2 separate regions of the Homo sapiens genome follow, and region 2 is linked to region 1. The links are contacts of gene promoters, found by promoter capture Hi-C in blood cells and fetal thymus (Javierre and others, 2016). All regions are on one chromosome and are shown on one strand. The core of a region is centred on a gene start or on the middle of the fragment in contact, and the rest is flanking DNA. Distances in the headings are between cores, read along the strand shown.

Region 1 (5,891 bases), core at 2,216-4,715:
ATACAGTCCTTACATGAAAAGGTCTAGATTGAGTAGATAAAGGTAATGGCAATAGTAAAGAGATAATTAAAGTAGCAAAAACACTTGATATATCTGAGAGAATCAGATATGACTCAAAGAGTTTATTAGCATCTTTAACTAATCTATAACAGAGACAAAAAAATTTGAGATTGTTTCAAAACTGTTATCTTCAGGTTCATGCATTTACTAATGACTTACCTAAAGTGACTACTTTTAGCATTAAGGAGGATAGTATTGATCTGGGGGTGGTGCTATCTTCTACTGTAACTATTATTTCAGATTCTTTATCTTAATCTGTTAAGAGGAAATTAAGTATTGAAAGGATTCAATAATCAGAGTTACCAACTTGAATACTAAAATCCCCATGTCAGTTTCATATGGTCAGTCTCAAAAGGACATCAATGAATCACTGAAGGATGCACCTATTGTCCTATAAGCAAATGTAATAATGATTTTTTAAAATGCCAACAGTGCAACTACATTTGTTAATAGCATGTCCAGTCTGTTGTCTAACTGCTAGTAAAATTCAATACAAAATATGTGTGTGTGATAAGAAAATACACAAAAATACACCAACATTTTTCTTCCTTTTCCCTTCTGATGTTTAGAAAATTTGCGAACTGGTTTAAACCAAAAGGGGTAAAGGAATGAAATTATTCCTTCAGGCTTAGAGGATTCTGTGCCAAGTTTCATTTCTGGCTACATATTTCTAACCAAGTTCAAGATCCCTGAAAAGGAATACATAAAAGAGAAAATATCCCTTTAACCTCAGTGGAATGACATTAGTAAAGGCTGCTATGGGAAGAGAAAGGCTTTTGCCCTGAGATGGGTGTGCTCCTGGTGTTTGGTTTCCACTGAGAGGATGCCTGCTCTCTCAATGAATCTGAAGTACCTACTAGGATGAGGTAATGGCTGTGCCAGTTTCACTGGGTCATGCTCTTTCAGCACATTCTTTCCCTGTCTCCTCCCTGAGAAGGTGCTGTAAACAAGTCATCCTGAGAGGTGCTGCAGAGAATGAACAATCCTAAATTCAAAATTCTTGAAAACACTGGCCCTCCTATGGCAGTATAGAAGACTAAAGCAGCCATAAAGAAACAGGTTATTTGATTAGAAAAGGGAAAAAAATAAGAGAGGAGATAAATAAAATAAAAATTAATATAACTAAAATATTATTTTATAAAAGGTAGCTCTATTTTTAAATTACTTAGATCTTCAGATGTGTGTTAAGCAATTTTCTACTTATGGTTTTAAAAAAGAAAACTTTGGACATTAAATAATATTGTAGCAAACTGTAAAATATGAAAAATTAAAATTAAATAAACCACAGATAAACAGCATGTACCACTGATCCTAAAGCCACAATGGCTCTGATAATATACAAATCATGAATGCAGATGTACACCTATGATAATCAGATGAAATTACCAGGAAATCAACATAAACATACACACACAAATATAATAATCCTTACTGAATGAGAAAAATGCCTTTTTTCTTGAAGGAAGGGTTCTTTGTGTGCATGGGGCTGGGGCTTTTGGAACATCCATGATTTGCAAATTCACAAGGATTTCTACCAAAATACACCTATTGCCCGGTTAAAGGGCTGCTTTGTGTTATATTCTGATGGAAGGCTGTAATCTTTTCCCTGGGCATAAAATTAAAAGCATTCTAAAGGGCTTCTATTTATTCAATCTATTTGACTGCCAAAAAAAATCATAATTGTCCACAGTGAAATGACATAGTGAAAGAACTATGCTTTTGAACTGGGCTGGTACCTGCAGCTCATGCATGGGACATTTTGCATAATGTGGCTCACATAGAAGGCTTTGTTCTCCATCGCCTCACTGTGGCTGCAAACCTCAATTTCAGTTTGCAATCATTTCCTTTTCTAGACTGATCATTTTAAAATAAATTATACCTTTAACATTTAAATTAGTTCCTTACCAACAGTCATCAATCCCTTTGCCTCACACCCAAAATTATATACCACCCAACAATATTTTTTTGTTTTGCACTACAGATTTTATTCACAACATAATTTCCAAACCCTCAAATACAATTTTAAAAAATCAGTCTCTTAAGTACCTATTTCCTTTTGTAACATGTATATAGTGTATTATACATTTGTGTGCATACTTGTGTGTTTAGGCATTTAAACAAAAACCCTTTACACCGGACTCAATTTTAAAGCGTCTATGTCCTGGAAGCATTGTGCTAAGAGCTTACGACAGATGGCACACAGCAATTGTCACAAACGGGCTTGTTGCTAATGAAAGCTTTTTATTTTCTGACAAAAATCCTGAAGTCCGGATGCCAGGCAGAATAACATTAATTTCCAGTTTTCAAGGATTTTTTTTCTGACTCCATCCATACCCCTCCCCCTATACACACCCAAATATACAGCTCCCCACTCCTAGCCCCCCACACACTCTTTCTTGAAATTTCCATCCTTAAACAAAAGACGAGGTGGGGGAAGGCAGGCAGCCAGCACTGCAGTCCTCCTCTCCCCACCAAAAAAGCCTTTTAAAAAGAAAAGGAAGAAAAGAATAGATGCACTGTAGATTCAGAGGTCCACCCCCAACGTTTAAAAAGAAAAACGACTGTGTGGAAGCCTAACCAGACTCATTTCTTCGTGCCCCGCCCTCCAACACCACCAGGCATTTATTTTTCATTTTCCTACAATTATAAATATCAGTCCTCCTCTCCCAGCTGTTTCTGAAGGAATTACAGAGAAACATGATTTGAAATGGACAAGGCTTCCCTCACTCACTCACTTCCCAGTGTGCAGTTCTCTGCAGCTGGATGAACAAAAAAATCCCCTACCTCGATTTCCTATTTTCCACTATCTTTGTAGAATCCACTCCCCTTCTTTCCACAGCGCAGGTAATACTGGCTTTCGATACACGTATTCTAACCTGGCGTAAGTTTTCAGTTGTTTCAAAGTGGTACCTAACAAGCTCACTCGCTCTTCTACGAAGCCAGGGCTCAGGTACCAGTAGCGTCCGGCCCCCTGCTCCGCAGTGACACCTGGAGAGGACAGGCCCGAATCTTCCGCCAGGTGCACGGCTGGCCACTCGACCAACTACCAGACTGCCTGCTGCGAGTCCCAGAGGACGAGACACAACCCCTCCCCATTCCTATCTCTTTCTACTCAGAGACCGAGGCAAAAGGAGAGGCGCCCTACATAGAGCCAGAGGTGGGGACGGTCTCTTACCTGGGCGCAGAAACTGGATGCACCCGCGGTCGCGACTGCCACCGCTCACGGACTTAGCGCCCTCCGGAGAAAAAGGAGAGGGGTAGAAGGGTTAGGGGAAGAAGGGGAGGGGGGGGAAAAAGAAGGAGAAGGAAGAGAAAGAAGCGGAAGGGAAGTAAAGGAAGAGAGGATGCTGCTGCTGCTGCTGCTGCTGCCCAGAGCCCGCGCAGCCCGAGCGCCCGCCCCAGACTGAGAGCGGCGCCCCCAGCCGGCTCCCAGCGCAGCAGCTCCGCCTCGGCCCCTCCTCCCCGCCCCGCGCAGGTCCCGCCCCGCGCAGGTCCCGCCAGACTCCGCGAGCCCGTGGGCGGCCGCGGCGGGGCTGGCGCTGCCACCGCCGCAGTGTCCGGGAGGGGGAGCACGACCGCTTCGCCTTCTGCCGCAGCCGCCGGCCGCCAGGCGGGGACCGCGAGGTGGGAGCCTCGGAGAGCCCCGCCCAGCCGCTGGCCCGGGCCTTCTCCAGAGCCCTGGTCCCCTCCCGCGACAAAGTGAGGCCAGTGCCCGGGCGGCGGGACAGGCGGGCCTTCCTCACTGGCGTCCTTGGAAAATCGGGGGCAACAGCTTTAGTCTCTCGGGAGCAACCTCCGCAGACCCCCTGCTTCCCTCCCCTGTGTCGCTATGAGGCGGGGTTGCCAGTGGCACCTCACCAGGAAAGCTCACTGGCCTCGCCTCACAAACCCAACCACAGGTGCATCCAGAAAAGACAAAGGAATGTGGGGCGCTTGAGAACATAGAACAACTCTTGTCAGCACTAAAGGAGCAATGGCTGAGGGAGTAGAGAATTCTAGACCCAGCTCTGTCACGAATTAGATTCATTCATTTATTGAGTCAACGAATGTTTATTGACACCTACTATGTGTCAGGCACTCTTCTAAGCATTAGAAACATCAGTGACAGACCTTTCCCACAACCCTAATAAGAAAGATCCCCTCCCTTTATAGTTATTACATTCTAGATAGCCAGACGTATGCTCTAGAGACAGTTCACTTAATCTAACTCTCAGTGTATTCATGTGTCATATGAGAACTAAAAATGACAGCCCAATTCTCTTATGCTTAAAAAGATAATGAATATGAAGGATCTTTGAAGAATGATACAAATACAATGAATTAGAAAGCACGGAAAGTGTTGACCTTGAAATATCACCCTTAAAAAAATTGCCTCTTAAATGCTTTTGAAAGTGAAATGACCACCTGAGAAAACAAATGATTCTTTACCATTCGTACTAAGGAGTATGAATCTTCATAATCAGAGAGCAGCATTTTATTGTAAGTAAGAAAAGTAAGATGCAACTTAGAATTACTTCGAGTGTCTATATCAAGTACTGACAAGGTGTTTTTAAGGTCAGCCAACATACTGAGGTGTGGCTTGTACAGTCTTCACAGTGCTGATGAAACAGCAGCCATAATGTGGTTCTGTCACTTAAATTAACCACAGAATCTTAGAACCTAGAACATTAGAGTTGATGTTTTAGGCAGCTGGTCTAATTTCCTCCATTTTCAGATGGAAAGAGACCCAATGGTGGGAGCCTGCAAGGATTAGAAACCATCACAGAGGAAGCTGTGAAAGCCTGCCCTCCCCAGTCACACCCAGTGCTCTGTGTCCTGCCTCCCCCGCTCTGCTTCATACCATGTGCCAGTGACGCTTGCAGTGAGTTTGGAAGTATCAAGGCACACCCAGGAGCTGGGAGGTTGGAGGAGTTGATGCTCCTCCTCGGAAGATGGCCTTACTGAGAAGGAGGTCTTAGGAGACTAGGAAATCATAGACAGTATGTGGATGGGAGGAAGGAGTAGGCATGCTACCAGAGTGTTAGCAGCTGACATTCATGACCAGGCATGCAGGCGCAGGTGCTCAATGAGAGTAATTTTCCAGGGCCAGGAGCGGTGGCTCACACCTGTAATCCCAGCAGCTCAGGAGGGAGTATCGCTTGAAGCCAGAAGTTTGAGGGTGCAGTGAGTTATGATTACACCACTGCACTCCAGCCTGGGTGACAGAGTGAGACCCTGTCTCTAAAAAACAGCAATAAAAAAGACATTATTTCTCTGATAGTTTAAAGTACAGTGTTCCTCAGCACTTTTTGTTTTTGTTTGTTTGTTTGTTTGTTTGTTTTTTCCTCCACTTTAAGATTAGCTGAGGCAGCCAAACTCTAATGGCTTTTCTCTTTGGGGAACCTGGTCCTTATATGGGAGATTGCCTCCTCTCGACACACATCTTAGAGTTCTTTCAGAAAAATAGCATCTATATGTTGTAATTCAATAGAGAGAATTTAATATGGGGAACAAATTACAAAGGATTCAAATGACTAAAAAGCCAACTAGGGGATGATGAGGCAACACGATGATAGTTACTAGCAGGAAAGTACTACCACTCTCAGGCTGGGGAGTGCTAGAGAGGAGGCTTTACCAGGAATGAGGAGCACAAGCTACATTAAAGGAACTGAGACCACAGTGGAGATGCTTACTGGGAGACAGATAATGCTGGAGGGTCCTCCAAAAGCTGAGAGTGAAAAGAAATATTGTGGCCCTCCTTTAACCTGTATTTCAAAACCCTGTCATTGGGTGAACCTAGAAGAAAGTCAGTTGACAAAGCAGCCTAAGAAATACAGTTTGCAGGAGTCAGT
Region 2 (5,895 bases), core at 1,307-3,806, 92 kb after region 1:
GCTGTCTGGGCCGCTGGTGCCCTCTACAGGTCAAATAGATGCTATACAGCTTTAGGTTTCACCTGTTAAAATGTCGTTTTAGCGCTAAAAGAACTCTGGGTCCCATTGCATAGTAGCTTCTTTACAGGGTACTGTCACTCTTATTGGCATAAATAATAGAAATATTGAGTAAAAATCACCTAAATAGCCTCATTCATGTGTCTAGCAGTTGGATAGGTGTTAGCTGGGATGATGGTGATGACGTGTCTCATTCTTCAGCAGCCTAGAGTGGTTATTCATATGGTAGCAGTCACAGGAACAATTGAAAATACCAAAGAGTATGTTTTATTTATGCCTTTCAGTTGCTTATTTAAATTTTTTATATAGTTGTTATATAATTGTAATGCAACACTCATATATCAATGTCTTAAGTTATTCAGTTACATCAAGATGATTATTTCTTTAAAAAAGTATGGGGAGACAGAAGTGGAGATGGCAGTAGTACAAGTTTTATTGTAAAGATCAAATGAAATAAACTATGTAAAGCTTATGGAACATAATAGGTCATCTGAAAGCAATTATTTTTACTTAATCAAATTTTAAAGTTTTATGTGAGAACAAAACAAGCTAGGGTGAGGGTGGAATGGTTGGGGGTGTGAAAAACGTAGGCAACACAGAGGAAGGGCTTACTCAGTCCTCATTTAAAATACCTCATTAAATATATCATGTGTACAAAATAGAAAAAAACACAAAATATAAGCATATTTCAAGTGTAATTAGGGAAAACGCATTTGTGGTCATTATTATGTATTATTTTTCTACATCAGAAATCTAAGTTTTCAGTCTTTGTTTAGAGTAATCCTTTATTGGTTTTTTACATTTTGTAACACAGATTAGTTTGGAGCTCCTAACTTTACCATGGTAAAGAGACAATCTGTAGTTCTGTTTTCTCATCTTTTACATGATAAGTAATAGTGAAGAGTCATAGTGTCCTAACTTCACTTGTTTTTTAAAAAAAATTTTTCTCCCATTTTGTAGGTTGCCTGTTCACTCTGACGGTAGTTTCTTTTGCGTGCAGAAGCTCTTTAGTTTAATTAGATCCCATTTGTCAATTTTGGCTTTTGTTGCCATTGCTTTTGGTGTTTTAGACATGAAGTCCTTGCCCATGCCTATGTCCTGAATGGTAATGCCTAGGTTTTCTTCTAGAGTTTTTATGGTTTTAGGTCTAACGTTTAAGTCTTTAATCCATCTTGAATTAATTTTTGTATAAGGTGTGAGGAAGGGATCCAGTTTCAGCTTTCTACATATGGCTAGCCAGTTTTCCCAGCACCATTTATTAAATAGGGAATCCTTTCCCCATTGCTTGTTTTTCTCAGGTTTGTCAAAGATCAGATAGTTGTAGATAGGCGGCGTTATTTCTGAGGGCTCTGTTCTGTTCCATTGATCTATATCTCTGTTTTGGTACCAGTACCATGCTGTTTTGGTTACTGTAGCCTTGTAGTATAGTTTGAAGTCAGGTAGCGTGATGCCTCCAGCTTTGTTCTTTTGGCTTAGGATTGACTTGGCGATGCGGGCTCTTTTTTGGTTCCATATGAACTTTAAAGTAGTTTTTTCCAATTCTGTGAAAATTTTCGCAACCTACTCATCTGACAAAGGGCTAATATCCAGAATCTACAATGAACTCAAACAAATTTACAAGAAGAAAACAAACAACCCCATCAAAAAGTGGGCGAAGGATATGAACAGACACTTCTCAAAAGAAGACATTTATGCAGCCAAAAGACACATGAAAAAATGCTCATCATCACTGGCCATCAGAGAAATGCAAATCAAAACCACAATGAGATACCATCTCACACCAGTTAGAATGGCAATCATTAAAAAGTCAGGAAACAACAGGTGCTGGAGAGGATGTGGAGAAATAGGAACACTTTGACACTGTTGGTGGGACTGTAAACTAGTTCAACCATTGTGGAAGTCAGTGTGGCGATTCCTCAGGGATCTAGAACTAGAAATACCATTTGACCCAGCCATCCCATTACTGGGTATATACCCAAAGGACTATAAATCATGCTGCTATAAAGACACATGCACACGTATGTTTATTGTGGCACTATTCACAATAGCAAAGACTTGGAACCAACCCAAATGTCCAACAATGATAGACTGGATTAAGAAAATGTGGCACATATACACCATGGAATACTATGCAGCCATAAAAAATGATGAGTTCATGTCCTTTGTAGGGATATGGATGAAATTGGAAATCATCATTCTCAGTAAACTATTGCAAGGACAAAAAACCAAACACCACATGTTCTCACTCATAGATGGGAATTGAACAATGAGAAGACATGGACACAGGAAGGGGAACATCACACTCTGGGGACTGTTGTGGGGTGGGGGGAGGGGGGAGGGATGGCATTAGGAGATATACCTAATGCTAAATGACAAGTTAATGGGTGCAGCACAACAGCATGGCACATGTATACATATGTAACTAACCTGCACATTGTGCACATGTACCCTAAAACTTAAAGTATAATAATAATTTAAAAAATAAAAAAAAACACACTTTAAATAAACCCCCCCAAAAAATTTTTTTTAAAGGCTAAATTAGAGATTCATATAAAAACACCTGACACTTTTCCTGGGCATGGTTCTAAGCTCTTCACATATGTTAACTTATGGACTTTTACAATAATAATTCAAGGTAAGGAGTAGTATTTTTTTCAATTTTCCAAAGAAGGAAACTGAGCTACAGAGAATTTTAATAAATTGCCAAAGATTATACATTTTGTAAGTTTTGAAGCCATCCATGTGGGGCAATCTGGTTCCAGGATATATATGTTTAACTGTTCAACTTTGAAAATTTGTAAAAACAAAAAGTATTATTTAAATCAAGATATTACCATTAGGATTAATATTAATCAGATCATTATTTCTCACATTCAGCTTTCTATGTTAACAAAGTTAATCTGAACAAAATAGGATCATTTAGCATGAGCAAGTCCTATGGTTTTAGGCTCTTGGGTAAGTGTTATTCTTAGATTTCTAGATATTGTAATTCGGGCACCATTCAAACTGAAGGCAAGTTACAGTATTTCTCTTCATTCAAATAGATTTGATTGTTTTGGTTACTTAAGGTTTTCTACAACTTAATGCCACTAAGGCACCACTTGATGGCAGTGGTAACCTGGGTTATGATGTCTATTTAGGTCTGGAGATAAGATGGAAATACAGTGATTTTTTAAAGCTGAATCCAACTAAACATCTATCTAAGATATGGTACTTAAAAGACAAAAAGACATGGTTCACATACATATTTGAATTACAGTTTTATCAAATATAAAACTCTGTGTCCTGCCTCTTTCCCACACCAGATTCATTATTTTAAAAAATCAAACCAAAGCAAAGCAAAAATCAATGTTAGGTTTCTTTGTGGTTGTTCTGATAGCTCTAAGGACTATACCTACGACACTTTTAAAACTATATCAACCTTAAATTTATTTAAATTTCAGCTTCTCCATCTATTACTCAGTTATCACCACTCTCTATGTCTTAGCTGATCACTTCTGCAACTCCAAACATGCAAAACCTCTAATTCTTTACTTCTCACTTATATAATGAGAATACTAATGTTCCCCTTCCCTTCATCATCTCGTCTTACCCTCACTATGCTCTCATTTCTGTCAGTTTTTTCAAAGTTGAGAAAAATTTGTATTCTATTTTATGATAATTAAGTACTGCAGATTTTGCTTATAATTTTAACCTAATAATTAAAAACCAAAGCCTGAGTTTATATCACTATGAGTATAAAAATACTGCTTATTTCAAAGAAGAGTCATGTGCCATGGTTGCATTACCTTTTCTACCAAGGCAATGACACATATCTGTGCCATTAGATGGAAAATATTCCTAGCATTAGGTACAAGTGGATTGTCCTATTTTATCCTGAGACCATTTTTAAATCTCATTGTCAAGGTCTTCTAATGTGCTTGATTGGTATTCTCCCGGTGTTTCCCATTCATTCTCATTTTTATGGTAATTTATTCCTTTAAAATGTATTTACCATCATTTTAATGGGTTCTCATGGGAGTAGGACTAAACAAATAAAATAATGATTAAATAGTATGAGCTACATAATGTTTAATCAAGAGTTGATGTAAAGAGAAACTTTTAAAGGAAACATAATGCCCATCATCATAGGACCAGTAAACTTTAGGGCTAGAAGTCTCTCTGTTATTTTACAAATCAAACCAAAGCAGAATAAATTAATTTTCTAAAATTGCACAAGTTAGTCTACAATGAATATCTTATCTGATGTGATTCTTTATTTCTTACCTAATGACAATTGATTTTAAGGATACCTGATAGCTAATATTTGCTTAAAGCATTTGAATTTGGTGTAATCTATACCCTTTAACCTAATAATGAAAACCTTTAGATCACTTAAGTCAATAGAGGCTTAATAAAGTATTTTATTTTTCATTGTTCTGACTCTTGGACTGTACTTGGTATACTTTAAACTTATACTTTTCTAGACAGAACAGGGAGAAGCTGAAGGCTTTTTACTATGCAAACCTTTAAATATCAGAGTAAGCTTACAGCTAATGTAGTTTTTATTTTCCAATCAGAGATTCCTATGAGAAAAAATATGTTTTTAAAATAAACTCCCTTTCAATGAATAATTTATTAAGCAACATTTCATTTCATTATATTGCAGTTAAATTTTAACCAGAGCTAATGATAAATCTGTGCTGTGGTTTTTCTTTTTTTAGAACATAAAGTATAATTTTGAACTAATTTATCAAAAAGGACAAGATAAACTAATTTATTATGAAACTATAACTTTCTATTCATGACAATGAAGTGGCAAAAAACACAATAAAATATATTTGGACACATTTTTTTCAACGTAGAAATGCAAAAGACATTACACAGTTAATGACTTCACTAATGCCCCTGAGTTATGTGACACTAATTATTTTGTTAGTCTGCCAACACTATGGGGTTTAAATTTTGAGAAGTAAAAACTGCAAATCCAGACTAACACTGCTTTTCAATTAATACTTTATAAGAAAATTAAAATTATATATCTATCATAAATTTTCTCCAATATTACTACTAATGAAATCTTCTTGAGATTGTATTTTCAGAGTTAATGCTCTGTTATTATAAATTCATTAAAAACCAAAAGCTGGAAGAGACCCAAACTCTGGCAACTAATTTCATAATCAAGTAAATGAAGGCATTGGGAGTTTAAATGGCTTCCTCAAATAGGCCAACAACTAATTACTGGTAAAAGTTGAAAGTATCTAACAACATTTTCTAATGTTGTAGTTTTATTTTCATTCTGTTCAAAATATTTAAAAATGCGTCTTTCAACTTCTTTGACATCAGTTTACTCAGAAATTTTAGAAAAATGTCTGAACTTTTTTTTTTTTTTTTGAGACTGAGCCTTGCTTTGTCACCCAGGCTGGAGTGCAGTGGCGCGATCTCGGCTCACTGCAAGCTCCTTCTCCCGGGTTCACGCCATTCTCCTGCCTCAGCCTCCCGAGTAGCTGGGACTACAGGCGCCCGCCACCACGCTCGGCTAATTTTTGTAGTTTTAGTAGAGACGGGGGTTTCACAATGTTAGCCAGGATGGTCTCGATCTCCTGACCTCGTGATCCGCCCGCCGCGGCCTCCTAAAGTGTTGTGATTACAGGCGTGAGCCACCGCGCCTGGCCGACGAAAAATGTCTGAACATTTGGGAATTTTGCAAATATCTTTCCTTTGTTGATTTGTGATTTAATTCCATTATGGTCAAATAATATGCTTTGTATAATTTCTATTTCCTTTCAATATACAGAGACTTTATGGCACAAAATATAGTTTGTTTTGGTAATATCTCTGTGCGCACTTGAAAAGGTC

Evidence for each region. Contacts are between HindIII fragments. The CHiCAGO score rates a contact against its expected background, and 5 or more counts as called.
Region 2: a contact is called between a fragment that was not itself captured here and the fragment with the promoter of MAP2 in region 1, in 2 of 17 cell types (megakaryocytes and endothelial precursors). The highest score is 8.6, in megakaryocytes.

The regions. Positions count from the first base shown.
Region 1 is chr2:209,421,621-209,427,511 of GRCh38, reverse strand. It overlaps MAP2 (microtubule associated protein 2), which reads right to left and starts at 3,465. Exons shown (of 16, transcript NM_001375505.1): 1 at 3,236-3,465. RefSeq lists a silencer at 3,395-3,784. The HindIII fragment of the contact is 4,087 bases long and covers 2,300-5,891 here.
Region 2 is chr2:209,328,755-209,334,649 of GRCh38, reverse strand. No RefSeq gene overlaps it. Among named protein-coding and RNA genes, the nearest start is that of MAP2, 92 kb to the left of the region's middle. The HindIII fragment of the contact is 4,057 bases long and covers 528-4,584 here.